Linked DNA regions of Homo sapiens: region 1 is linked to region 2. Evidence: promoter capture Hi-C in 16 types of primary human blood cells and fetal thymus (Javierre and others, 2016). All regions are on one chromosome and are shown on one strand. Each heading gives the region's core, a stretch centred on a gene start or on the middle of the fragment in contact. The rest is flanking DNA. Distances are from core to core; before and after follow the strand shown.

Region 1 (5,596 bases), core at 1,423-3,922, 270 kb before region 2:
AACCCTGTCTCTTAAAAAAAAAAAAAAAACTAAATGAAGATTAAATGACAATGTCTCATTGGAGAGTATCAATAAAGGAGTAGAAATTATAAAAATGAACCAAATAAAAAATTCTGGAGATGAAAAGTACAATAAACAAAATGAAAAGGCCAGGAGTGGTGGCTCACATCTGTAATCCTGGCACTCTGGGAGGCTAAGGCAGGAGGATTGCTTGAGCCCAGAAGTTCGAGAACAGCCTGGGCAACATAGTGAGACCTCACCTCTAAAACAAAACAAAACAAAAACAAAATGAAAAATTCACTGGATAGGATAAACAGTAGATTTGAGTTGGCAGAGAAAAGAATCAGTGAACTTGACACATCAGTAGAAATAATGCAATCTGAAAAATAGAGAAAAATATGAAGAAAAATGAGCAGAGCATCAGAGCAATATGGGACACCACTAAGTGCACCAGCATATTGATATGGTTTAGCTTTGTGTCCCCACCCAACTCTTATATCAAATTGTAATCCACGATGTTGGAAGTGGGGCCTGGTGGGAAGTGATTGGATCATGGGGGTGGTTTCCAATGATTTAGCATCCCCCTTGGTTGTGATAGTGAGTGTGTTTTTGTGAGATCTTGTCATTTAAAAGTGTGTAGCACCTCCCCCCTCCCTGTTTCTTCCTCCTGCACTGGCCATGTAAGACATGCCTGTTCCCCATTTGCACTCTGCCATGATTGTAAGTTTTCTGAGGCCTCCCCAGAAGCTGAGCAGATGCTGCCATGCTTCCTGTACAGCCTGCAGGACCATGAGCCAATTAAACCTCTCTTCTTTATAAATTACCCAGTCTCTGGAATTTCTTTATAGCTATGCAAGAATGGACTAATATAGAAAATTGGTACTGAGGAGTGGGACATTGCTATAAAAATACCTGAAAATGTGGAAGTGACTTTGGAACTGGGTAATGAGCAGAGGTTGGAAGAGTTTGGAGGGCTCAGAAGAAGACAGGAAGATGAGGGGAAATTTGGAACTCCCTACGGACTGGTTAAATGGTTGTGACCAAAATGCTGATAGTAATATGGATAGTGAAGGCCAGGGTGAGGAGGTCTCAGATGGAAATAAGGAACTTAATGGGAACTGGAGCAAAGATAACCTTTGTTACATATTCGCAACAGAACCTGGTGGTGTTGTGCCCCTGCCCTAGGGATCTGTGGCACTCTGAACTTGAGAGTGATGATTTAGGGTATCTGGTGGAAGAAATTTTTAAGCTGCAAAGTGTTTACGGATTGGCCTGGCTGCTTCTAACAACCTACGCTCATATGTGTGAGCAAAGAAATGACCTGAACCTGGAACTTATATTTAAAAGGGAAGCAGAGTGTAAAAGTTTGGAAAATTTGTAGCCTGGCCATGTGGTAGAAAAGAAAAGCTAATTTTCGGGGGAGGAATTCAAGCAGGCTGCAGAAATTTGCATAAGTAAAGAGGAGCCCAAGTGCTAATAGCCAAGACAATGGGGAAAAGGTCTAGAAGGCATTTCAGAGACCTTCGTGGCAGCCCCTCCCAGCACAGGCCTGGATGCTTCAGAGGACTGAATGGTTTTCTAGGTCAGGCCCAGGGCCCTGCTGCCCTGCACAGCCTTGAGACTCTACTCCCTGCATCCCAGCTGCTCCAGCTCCAGCTGGCTGAAAGGGGCCCTGGCCACTGTTTCAGAGGGTGCAAGCCATTAAACTTGGCAACTTTCATGTGGTGTTAAGCCTGCAGGTGCACAGAATGCAAGAGTTTAGGCTTGGGAGCCTCTGCCTAAATTTCAGAGGATGTATGGAAATGCCTGGATGTTCAGGCAGAAACCTGCTGCAGGGGCAAAGCCCTCATACAGAACCTCTACTAAGGCAGTGTGGAAATGTGGGGTTGGAGCCCCCACACAGACTCCCCACTGGGGGACTACCTAGTGGAGCTGTGAGATGAGGACCTCTGTCTTCCAGACCTCAGAATGGTAGATCCACTGGCTGCTTGCATCCTGCACCTGGAAAAGCCACAGGCACTCAAGACCATCCCTTGAGAGCAGCCATGTGGGCTGAACCCTGCAAAGCCACAGGGGGAGAGCTTCCCAAGGCCTTGGGAGCCCAGCTCTCACACTAGTGTCCCCTGGATGTGGGGCATGGTGTCAAATGAGATTATTTTGGACCTTTAAGATTGAACGACTACCCTGCTGGGTTTTGAACTTGCATGGGGCCTGAAGCCCCTTTCTTTTGGCTGATTTCTCCCTTTTGGAATGGGAGTATTTAACCAATGACTGTACCCCCATTGGAAGTAACTAACTTGTTTTTGATTTTACAGGCTCATAGGTGGAAGGAACTTGCCTTGTCTCAGATGAGATTTTGGACTTTTGAGTTAATGCTGGAATAAGTTAACACTTTGTGAGACTGCATGATTATATTTTGAAATATCAGAAGGACATGAGATTTGGGAGGGGCCGGCGGCAAAATGATATGGTTTGTGTCCCCACCCAAATCTCGTGTTAAATTATAATTCCCAGTGTTAGAGGTGGGGCCTGGTGGGAGGTGACTGGATCATGGGGGCAGTTTCCAGTGGTTTAGCACCATCCTCCTTAGTCATAATAGTGAGTTCTCATAAAATCTGGTCATTTACAAGTCTGGGCCAGGCACAGTGACTCACACCTGTAATCCCAGCACTTTGGGGGGCTAAGGGGGGGCAGATCACCTGAGGCCAGGAGTTCAAGACCAGCCTGGCCAACATGGTGAAACCCTGTCTTTACTAAAAACACAAAAATTAGTTGAGTATGGTGGTGGGTGCCTGTAATCCCAGCTACTTGGAAGGCTGAGGCAGGAGAATTACTTGAACCTGGGAGGCAGAGGTTGCAGTGAGCAGAGATTGCACCACTGCACTCCAGCCTAGGCCAGAGTGAGACTCCAGCTCAAAAAAAAAAAAAAAAGTAGCACCTCCCTGCTCCTTCTCTTTTCCTTCTGCTCTGGCCATGTAAGATGTGCCTGTTTCTCCTTCACCTTCTGCCATGAGTATAAGTTTCCTAAGGCCTCCCCAGAAGCCAAGCAGATGCTGCCACACTTCCTGTACAGCCTGCAGAACTGTGAGCCAATTAAATCTCCTTTCTTTATAAATTACCCAGTCTCAGGTATTTCTTTATAGCAATGTAAAAATGGACTAATACACATAAGAATAATGGAGAGAAGTGAGAGAAAGGGACATAAAAATTATTAGAAGGCACAATGGCTGAAAATTTCCCCAAATTATTTGCTTATTTATTTAAAATTTATTAATATTATCATGTTTATAGAAAGAGTCTTGCTCTGTCACCCAGCCTGGAAGGCAGTGGCACAAGCATAGCTCACTCTAACTTTGACTCCCTGGGCTCAAGCATTCTTCCTGCCTCAACCTCCCAAGTAGCTAGGACTACAGGCATGCACCCCAATGCTCAGCTAATTTTCAAGTTTTTTGTAAAGACAGGGTCTTGCTGTATTTCCTAGGCTGGTCTTGAACTCCTAGCCTCAAATGATCATCCCACTTCAGCCTCCTAAAGTCCTGAGCTTACTCATCACCTAAAGGCAAGAGCCACTGTGCCTGACCAATTTCCCCAACTTTGATGAAAAACATTATTCTAAACATCTGAGAAACAATGAATTTCAAGTAGGATGAACACAAAGGCATTCACACTCAGACATATTATAGTCAAATTTTGAAAGCCAAAGATAAAGATAAAATCTTAAATGCAGCAAAAGGAATACAATTCATTGTGTACCAGTAGTACAATAATATTGACAAATGATGTCTCATCAGAAGCAATGGGGGCTAGAAAGCCGTGGTATGACATGTTCAAAGTGCTTAACAGTAAAAACAAAACAACAACAAAAAACCTGTTAACCAATAATTCCATACCCAACAAAACTATCTTTCAACAATAATGGCAAAATAAAAAGCACTCCAAAATAAATAAAATCTGACTGAATTTATTGCTACCAGTCCTGAGTAACAAGAAATATTTAAGGTTTTTCAGATAGAAAGCAAGTGACACCAGAAACTAATTTGAATCCACATGAAAAACAAAAGTGTTGGTAAAAGTAGATAATTACAATATAAAGTATAATTGCATATTTCTTCTTCTCCTCTTAACTGATCTAAAAAGTAATTGCATAAGAAAATATGCATGTAACTTTTTATGGGCTATGCACATATAGGAATGTAATATGTGTCAACATTTTGTCAAAATGTTATTTAACAGTAACAGCACAAAGGAGATGGATGAAAAATTACAGCCAACATCTCTTATGAATATACACAAAAATCCTCAACTAATTACTAGCAGCCTAATCCAGCAACATATACAAAGGATTATATACCACATTGAAGTGGGATTTATCCCAGGAATGCAAGGTTGGTATAATATATTAACATCAATCACTGTAATACACTACATTAATACACTGAAGGACAAAACTCATATGGACATTTCAACAGACATAGAAAAAGCATTTGACAAAATTCACCACTATTTTTTTTTTTTTTGAGATGGAGTCTCACTCTGTCATCCAGGCTGGAGTGCAGTGGCACGATCTTGGCTCACTGCAACCTCTGCCTCCCAGGTTCAAGCGATCATCATGCTTTAGCCTCCCGAGTAGCTGGGACTACAAGCATGCGCCACCATGCCCAGCTAATTTTTGTATTTTTAGTAGAGATGGGGTTTCACCATGTTGGCCAGGCTGGTCTCAAACTCTTGACCTTGTGATCTGCCTGCCTTGGCCACCCAAAGTGCTGAGATTATAGACATGAGCCACCATGCCTGGCCCACCACTCTTTCATGATAAAACAAACAAATGAAAACAAGAACAGAAGAGGACTTCTACCAACAATGGAAGAGAGCTTCCTCCTCAACACTGTAAAGGGGTTTATGAAAAACCCACAGCTAAAATCATATATATATATTTTGAGACAAAGTCTCACTCTGTAGCCCAGGCTTGGAGTGCAGTGTTGCTATCCTGGCTCACTGCAGCCTTGACTTCCTGGGCCCAAGTGATCCTCCCCCCTCAGCCTCCGAAGTAGCTGGGACTACAGACAGGCGCATGCCACCATGCTTTGCTAATTTTTTTTTTTTTTTAATTTTTGTAGAGACAGGATCTCCTTATGTTGCCTATGCTGGTCTTGAACTCCCGGACTCAAGTAATCCTTCTGCCTCGGCTTCCGAAAGTGCTGAGATTACAGGTGTGAGTCACCATGTGTGTCCTAAAATCATGTTTAATGATGAAAGACTGTATGCTTTCAGCCTATGATCAGGAAGATGACAAGGATGTCTGCTCTTTCCACTTCTGGTTTCTAGCCAGGGACAATAGGCAAGAAAAAGAAAAGGCATCAAGACTGGAAGAAATGAAGTAACACTACCCTCTATTTGCAGATGACATGGTCTTGTGTATAGAATAGTCTAAGGAATTTCCAAGAAAGCTCTGGAATTAACAAGTACAGTAGGATTTTAGGATACAAGATTAATATGCAAAATTTATTTGTGTTTCTATATGCCAGCAGTCATAATCTGAAAAGGAAATTAAGAGAACAATTGCATTTGCAATCATATCAAAAGGAGTAAAATACTT
Region 2 (5,903 bases), core at 35-2,534:
AGCAGCTCCAGAATGCAGTGGAGAGGGTGCCAGGATGTTTGTGTCCTCCCTGGGGACAGTGGGGTGGCTGCCTCTGCCGGTCTGATGACTGGGCTGAGAATATTAGCTAACGTTGATTGGACACTCATGGTGTCTTTCAAACAATTTTTACAGGATTCACAGGGCAGGCCATGAAGCCAGACTGCACGGTGCAAATTCCAGCTCCAGCACTTACTGGAGGGCAATGTTGGGCAAGATGCTTAACTGCTCCATGCCTCAGTTTCCTCATTTGTAAAATGGATGGAATAACGTGGTGTATCTGTGCCTTAAAGGGTGTTGTGAGAATTAAAGGAGTTAGTCCACATAAAGCTCTCAAAACAGGCTTTGCACATAGCTCATGCTCAGTAAACATGAGATATTATGACTTCAGTTAAGGCTCACAACCACCCAAGAGGTAGTTATTAATGCTGTCAACCCCATTTCATAGAGGGGGAAACTGAGACTCGGAGGAGTTAAGTGGTTTATTAAAAATCCAACCCTTGCTGGTCTCCGTTGATTGCACAGGGAAGTCACCAACCCAGGGGATCGATCAGATTCTGTCCCCCATCCTCCAGGAGTAGGGTCTCACACCATCAGTACACTGCAGGCACCAGACTCGGAAGACTGAGGCAAGGTCCTGGGTCTCCATGTTTACATCCATGCATTACTCGCAGAGCCAGGACTCAAGGCCAGGCCTGTGTGGTTTTAGGCCTGGAAATTCAACCCCTGCCCCAAACCACCAGGTGCTCCAAAAGGCCACAGAGATAGCCCTGGTGGCCAGAGATCAAGGAACCCTCCCCAGTGGATAGGCCACGTGGCCCTCTGCACACCCTACCGGACCCTGCTCTCCATTCTTGCCGACTCCCTCTGAGGCCACTTCTGAGATTTGTTCAAATCCGACACCCCCAAAGGTGGAAGTGGGGTGGGGAGAATGGAGGGTCCTGGGCTCCAAACTGTCTGTTGGAATGGCCCTGGGCCCTGGGGACCCTTGGCCTGGAAAGAGGGAGGCGCATGGCAAAGGGACCTGAGACTGTGGCTGCCAGGCCTGGCCTGTGGAGGGCCTTGTGTCCTTTCACCCCAAGCTCAGGCTTGTTGAGCACCCTGGCTGGAGGATTCAGCCCTCATCACCACCTAGCTCTCTTCTCCCGGGGGCAGCCCTCCCTCCACACCCCTCATAGACCTGCCTGGAGGGGGACTCACAGGGGCGGGTCGTGGAGATACTGCAAGTTCGCCGTCCTGCCGCCATGACAGCCTGGAGTTCGAGTTAATCCATAACCACAAATATTTGCTTGGCCCTCAGCACTGAGGCCTCCCTCTCCATAGACAAACAGTGGCACTAGCACTCCTGGTCCTAGCTCAGCACGGCTTGTTCTGCCCGAAGCCCACCTCTGCCCACCAAGGATGCCGTCCAGCAGGGAGGGAGGTGAGGGCAAAACCCTTGACAGATGTGGTCTCATTTTAGCCCCATAGTGGCTGGCTGAGGGAGGAACGTTGTCCCTGTTTTTCAGATGGGGACATTTTTGCCCAGAGATATTATAGTTTGCCCAAGATCAGCACAACAGGTAATATTCCATATTTCGTCAAATCTAAAATACCATTAATTATAAGACACATGTATTTATGTGCCACCATACAAGAAAAAAGACGCTGTCCCAATGACATGCCATCCCAATTTCTGATACATAAAATCATGAGAAGATGCTCCTTTTTGGGTCCCCAGTGCATAGGTGCTGGGCACTGGGCTCCACCCTCACCTCCAATTGCTCACAAATCACCCCCAATCCCCACCCCCAACACACACACACAATGGCACATAGCATCCCTCTAACCTCTATTTTTCAGGTAAGGACACTCAAGTTTTGTGTTACTCGCCCAGATTCACTGAGCTGGTAGTTGGCAGATTTAATTTGAACTCAGGTCTTGCTGCTTCCATTTGGCCCCTTTTGTGGACCAGTAAGAAAAATGAACGGGATTCCAGAAAGGCTGCAGCAATTTCCTGGCCGGGGTGCCAGAAGGGAGAAGGGCAGAAATAAAGGGTCCAGCTCAGCACCTTTGCCTGTGTCCTGCAGTCTATCAGCATTTATTAAGCGTCTTCCTGCTCCGAACCGGGCTGCACCAGAGATGCCCCCCTTTCCTCCCTGCCCTACCTGTTCCTGGGAAGACTTGCCCACGTTCCTTCTCCAAGTCTGCACCTCTAAACGGGGCATGTGACCCTGCCTCGCTGGCTTCCATTGATTGCACAGGGAAGTCACCAACCCAGGGGATTGATCAGAGGAGTAGGGTCTCACACTGTCAGTACACCATAAGTACCAGACTCGGAAGATTGAGGCCAGGTCCTGGGCATCCATGTTTACGCTTAAAGCAGAGGAAGCTGATGAGAAGGAAGATGCAGGTGTGCAGAGGGGGACTGAGGCCACGGACACCTAGAGAGTCCCAGGGAGCAGCGGAAGGAGGCCCCTGCCTCCTTATGATTGGTGGCACATCCTGGCTTCGGGTGCAGGAGGGTCCCCATGCCCTCCTAAAACCCTATTCCTCCTGAAGTTTCTTTAAATTGGCTGGAACAGCTTGTGTTGATTGTAACCAGATGCCTCCTGCTGAGGCACCACACCATGCTGGGCTGTGGTGGTACCAGGCCCTCCTAGAGGAACAGGGTAAAACTCTAACACTCTAACAAGTCAGGCCCACCTTGCCCAGGGGCAGGTACACATAGGAAATGCTTACAGAATTCAGAGGAGAGGGCAATCAGTACAAGCTGGCATAGCCAGGGGAGGCTGCCTGTAGGAGGTGACACTTCAGCTGGACATCAAAGAGCAGACAGGAGGAAAGACATCCCCCCCAACCCCACCCCAGGTTGGGAGACAGTGGGGAGACACAGAACACAAGCAGTCAGGAGGTGCTAGGAGGGGTGGAGGTGGAGAGGAGGTGGAGGGTGAGGCAATGGATTTTGAAATCGAGACTATGAGAAGTGGAGAACCAGGAGCTGTTTGTGACAGGCTGTGGCAGCTGCCTAGAAAAGCAGAGACAAGCTTCTGGGAACTCAGACAGGAAGCATGAAGACCCCATGCACAACCACAGAAGGCACCAGCTTGTATGTCCCTGTTTGCTTCAGGCGTCGCCCCCGCAAGTCTGCAGAGATCACTGCCCTCTGCTTTGCCTTCCAGGTGCAAGATGTTGTGGGTATTCTTTTGGCGCCGCTTCCCTTCCCCACCAACTTCTCGCCCTCTACTCCTCCCCACCCCAGCACAGGCAGCCGCTCCAGGGCAAGTCTATGCAGGCTCCACACACTGATTCTGACCTGCATAAATGGACTCTGCCCGGGGCACCCATGTCCAAACCAGCCCAGGTGCCCAAAGCACCGGCACCGGTACGAGCCAGGGCGGCTGCAATGCTCCCAAGTGCCCAGTGCTGGGGGTTGGGGGTGCCACGGCTTGGCAGGCTGCCCAGAGGGCGGAAGGGTCCTCTGCAGAGCTCTGCACGCCTGTCGGCCGACGGGGACTCTGCACGGCGGGCTGCGTCACGGCCGCCTCATCGGCTGGCAGCGCAGGAAACCCCGTCACCTTCTCGAGGTAGGGACAGTCCTGCCGCCAGCCGTTCCTGCGATCCCAGGGTCTCTGCAGTTACACCTGGTTCCAGCCGGGGGCGCCGCGCCGCACCGCTCCTGCGGAGGAGCCAGGCGCCCTTCACAGGCGCGGCCTCACCCGCTTTACTTGTCAGGTGTGAGTCGCCCCACGTGCACCCGAACGCGGTCAGGTCCACCCAGGAAGCCGGAGCAGGACTTTGGGCAGCGAGCTCGCTGTGAGTTAGAGAGCAGAGGGACACCTGTGGCTAAGGAATTCGCTGCATGGATGAAGACCCAAGCAAAGGAGCTAGAACCAAATGTGTGTGGGGCAAGGCCAGCCACAACTACCGGAGCAGGCGGGGTTCCAAAGCCCTCAGCTCTGGAGTCACGTTCCCACGGCCTTAAACCTCCGCTAGCCTTTTTCTGACAGGGGGATTTAACTTCCCTGTGTCTCAATGTCCACATTTGTAAAATGGGGTCAGCGTCCGTCTCAGGTGACTGTTATAAGGGTCACGTTAAATCTTTTATTAATTTTTTAATTAAAAAAGTTTTGAAACAGGGTCTCTCTGGCTCTGTCACCCAGGCTGGAGTGCAGTGGCGGGATCACAGCTCTCTGCGGCCTAGATCTCCTGGGCTCAAGCGATTCTTCTGTTTCAGCCACCTCAGTAGCTGGGATCACAGGCCCGTGCCACCACGCCCAGCTGATTTTTAAAAATTTTTAGGAGAGAGGAGGTCTTGCTGTGTTGCTCTAGAACTCCTGACCTCAAGTGATCCTCCCTCCTCAGCCTGCCAAAGTGCTGAGATTACAGGCGGGAGCCACTGTGCCTGGCCTTATTTTTAAGTATTTTATACAAAGTGGACATGGCCTGGGACTTAACAGGACTTCCCACAGGCCTGGGAAGGTCAGGGAGGGGCCGACTAGGAGGGGAAGGGGTCAAGGACAGCTGCTGCTGTGTGGAAGCTCAGACTGCACAGATCCGTTGTACAGATTAGGGCTGATCATTCAGTCAGCCCTAACCTGTACAACACTCCCCACCCCTTGCGTTTTGGCCCTGGCTCTGCCAATAGATGCCAGAAACCCAACTTGAGCTCACTCTGCTGAACAGTGATGAGAGATGGGCTGGTGGTCAGGGCTGACGGGACTAAGGTTCCTTCTCACCCCATGCCACTCCCCTGTGTGGGCATTGCCCATTCTCCATTCTCTCTGCAGGGACGCTGTGCTGCTCAGCCCACCCCAGGCAGGGCAGGGAGGACAGACACTAGAGAGGCTCCCGGGAGCTCCCTGGTAAGAAGTGGAGTGGGATGGATGCAGTCCAACGTCTCTCTCTTTTGTTGTTGTCAGGTTATTGTGGTATAATTTACACACAGGGAAACTCACACTTTAAAAATGTACAGTTCTGCTTGTTTTGACAAATGTATGTTATAGTGCATCCACCACCACATCATGATATACACATTTTCATCACCCTCAGAAATTCTGTGTTCCACCCCAACTCTTGGCAACCACTGATTGGATTTCTATCTCTATAATCTGCATTTTCTAGAATAGCATATAAAGGGAATCCTACAGCACATATATATATTTTTTTGAGTTGGTGTCTTGCTCTCTTGCCCAGGCTGGAGTGCAGTGGTGTGATCTCAGCTCGCTGCAATCTCCACCTCCTGGGTTCAAGTGATTCTCCTGCCTCAGCCTCCTGAGTAGCTGGAATTACAGGCACACGCCACCACACCTGCCTAATTTTTGTATTTTTTAGTTTCACCATGTTGGCCAGGCTAGTCTTGAATTCCTGACCGCAAGTGATCCGCCCACCTCAGCCTCCCAAAGTGCTGGGATTATAGGCGTGAGCCACCGTGCCCAACCAGTACATAGCTTTTTAAGACTACCTTCTTTCACTCAGCATAAAGCTTTTGAGATTTATTCATGTGGAATTCTATATCAGTACTTTATTTCTTTTTATTGCTGACTGGGCTCCATTATATAGATGTGCCACAATCTGTTATCCATTTGCCAGTTCTTGGCTATCATTAAATTAAGCTGCTAGAACATTTATGTATAGGTCCTTGTGTGGGCATATGTTTTCATTTCTCTTGGGTAATATCTAGGAATAAGATTGCTGAGTCATGTGGTGAGTACGTGTTTACTTTTGGGAAAAAAAAATAAAGTCAAACTTTTCCAGAGTGGTGGTGGCATTTTGCATTCCCACCAAGCAATGTCTGAGTGTTCCTGTTGCTCTGCATCCTCACCAGCATTTGGTGTTGTCGGTTGTTTTTTAATTTTAATTTTCAATTTTTAGCCTTCTTAATAGATGTGTAGTGGTATCTCATT

The links. The method cuts DNA at HindIII sites, captures the fragments that hold promoters and counts their contacts. A CHiCAGO score of 5 or more calls a contact.
Region 1: a fragment that was not itself captured here is called in contact with the fragment with the promoter of PROC in region 2 in 1 of 17 cell types (neutrophils); the score reaches 5.7 in neutrophils.

The regions. Positions count from the first base shown.
Region 1 is chr2:127,686,875-127,692,470 of GRCh38, reverse strand. No RefSeq gene overlaps it. Among named protein-coding and RNA genes, the nearest start is that of SFT2D3, 12 kb to the left of the region's middle. The HindIII fragment of the contact is 6,533 bases long and covers 1-5,596 here.
Region 2 is chr2:127,413,808-127,419,710 of GRCh38, reverse strand. PROC (protein C, inactivator of coagulation factors Va and VIIIa) reads right to left here and starts at 1,284. Exons shown (of 9, transcript NM_000312.4): 1 at 1,219-1,284. RefSeq lists enhancers at 3,121-3,180, 3,561-4,323. The HindIII fragment of the contact is 16,432 bases long and covers 1-3,046 here.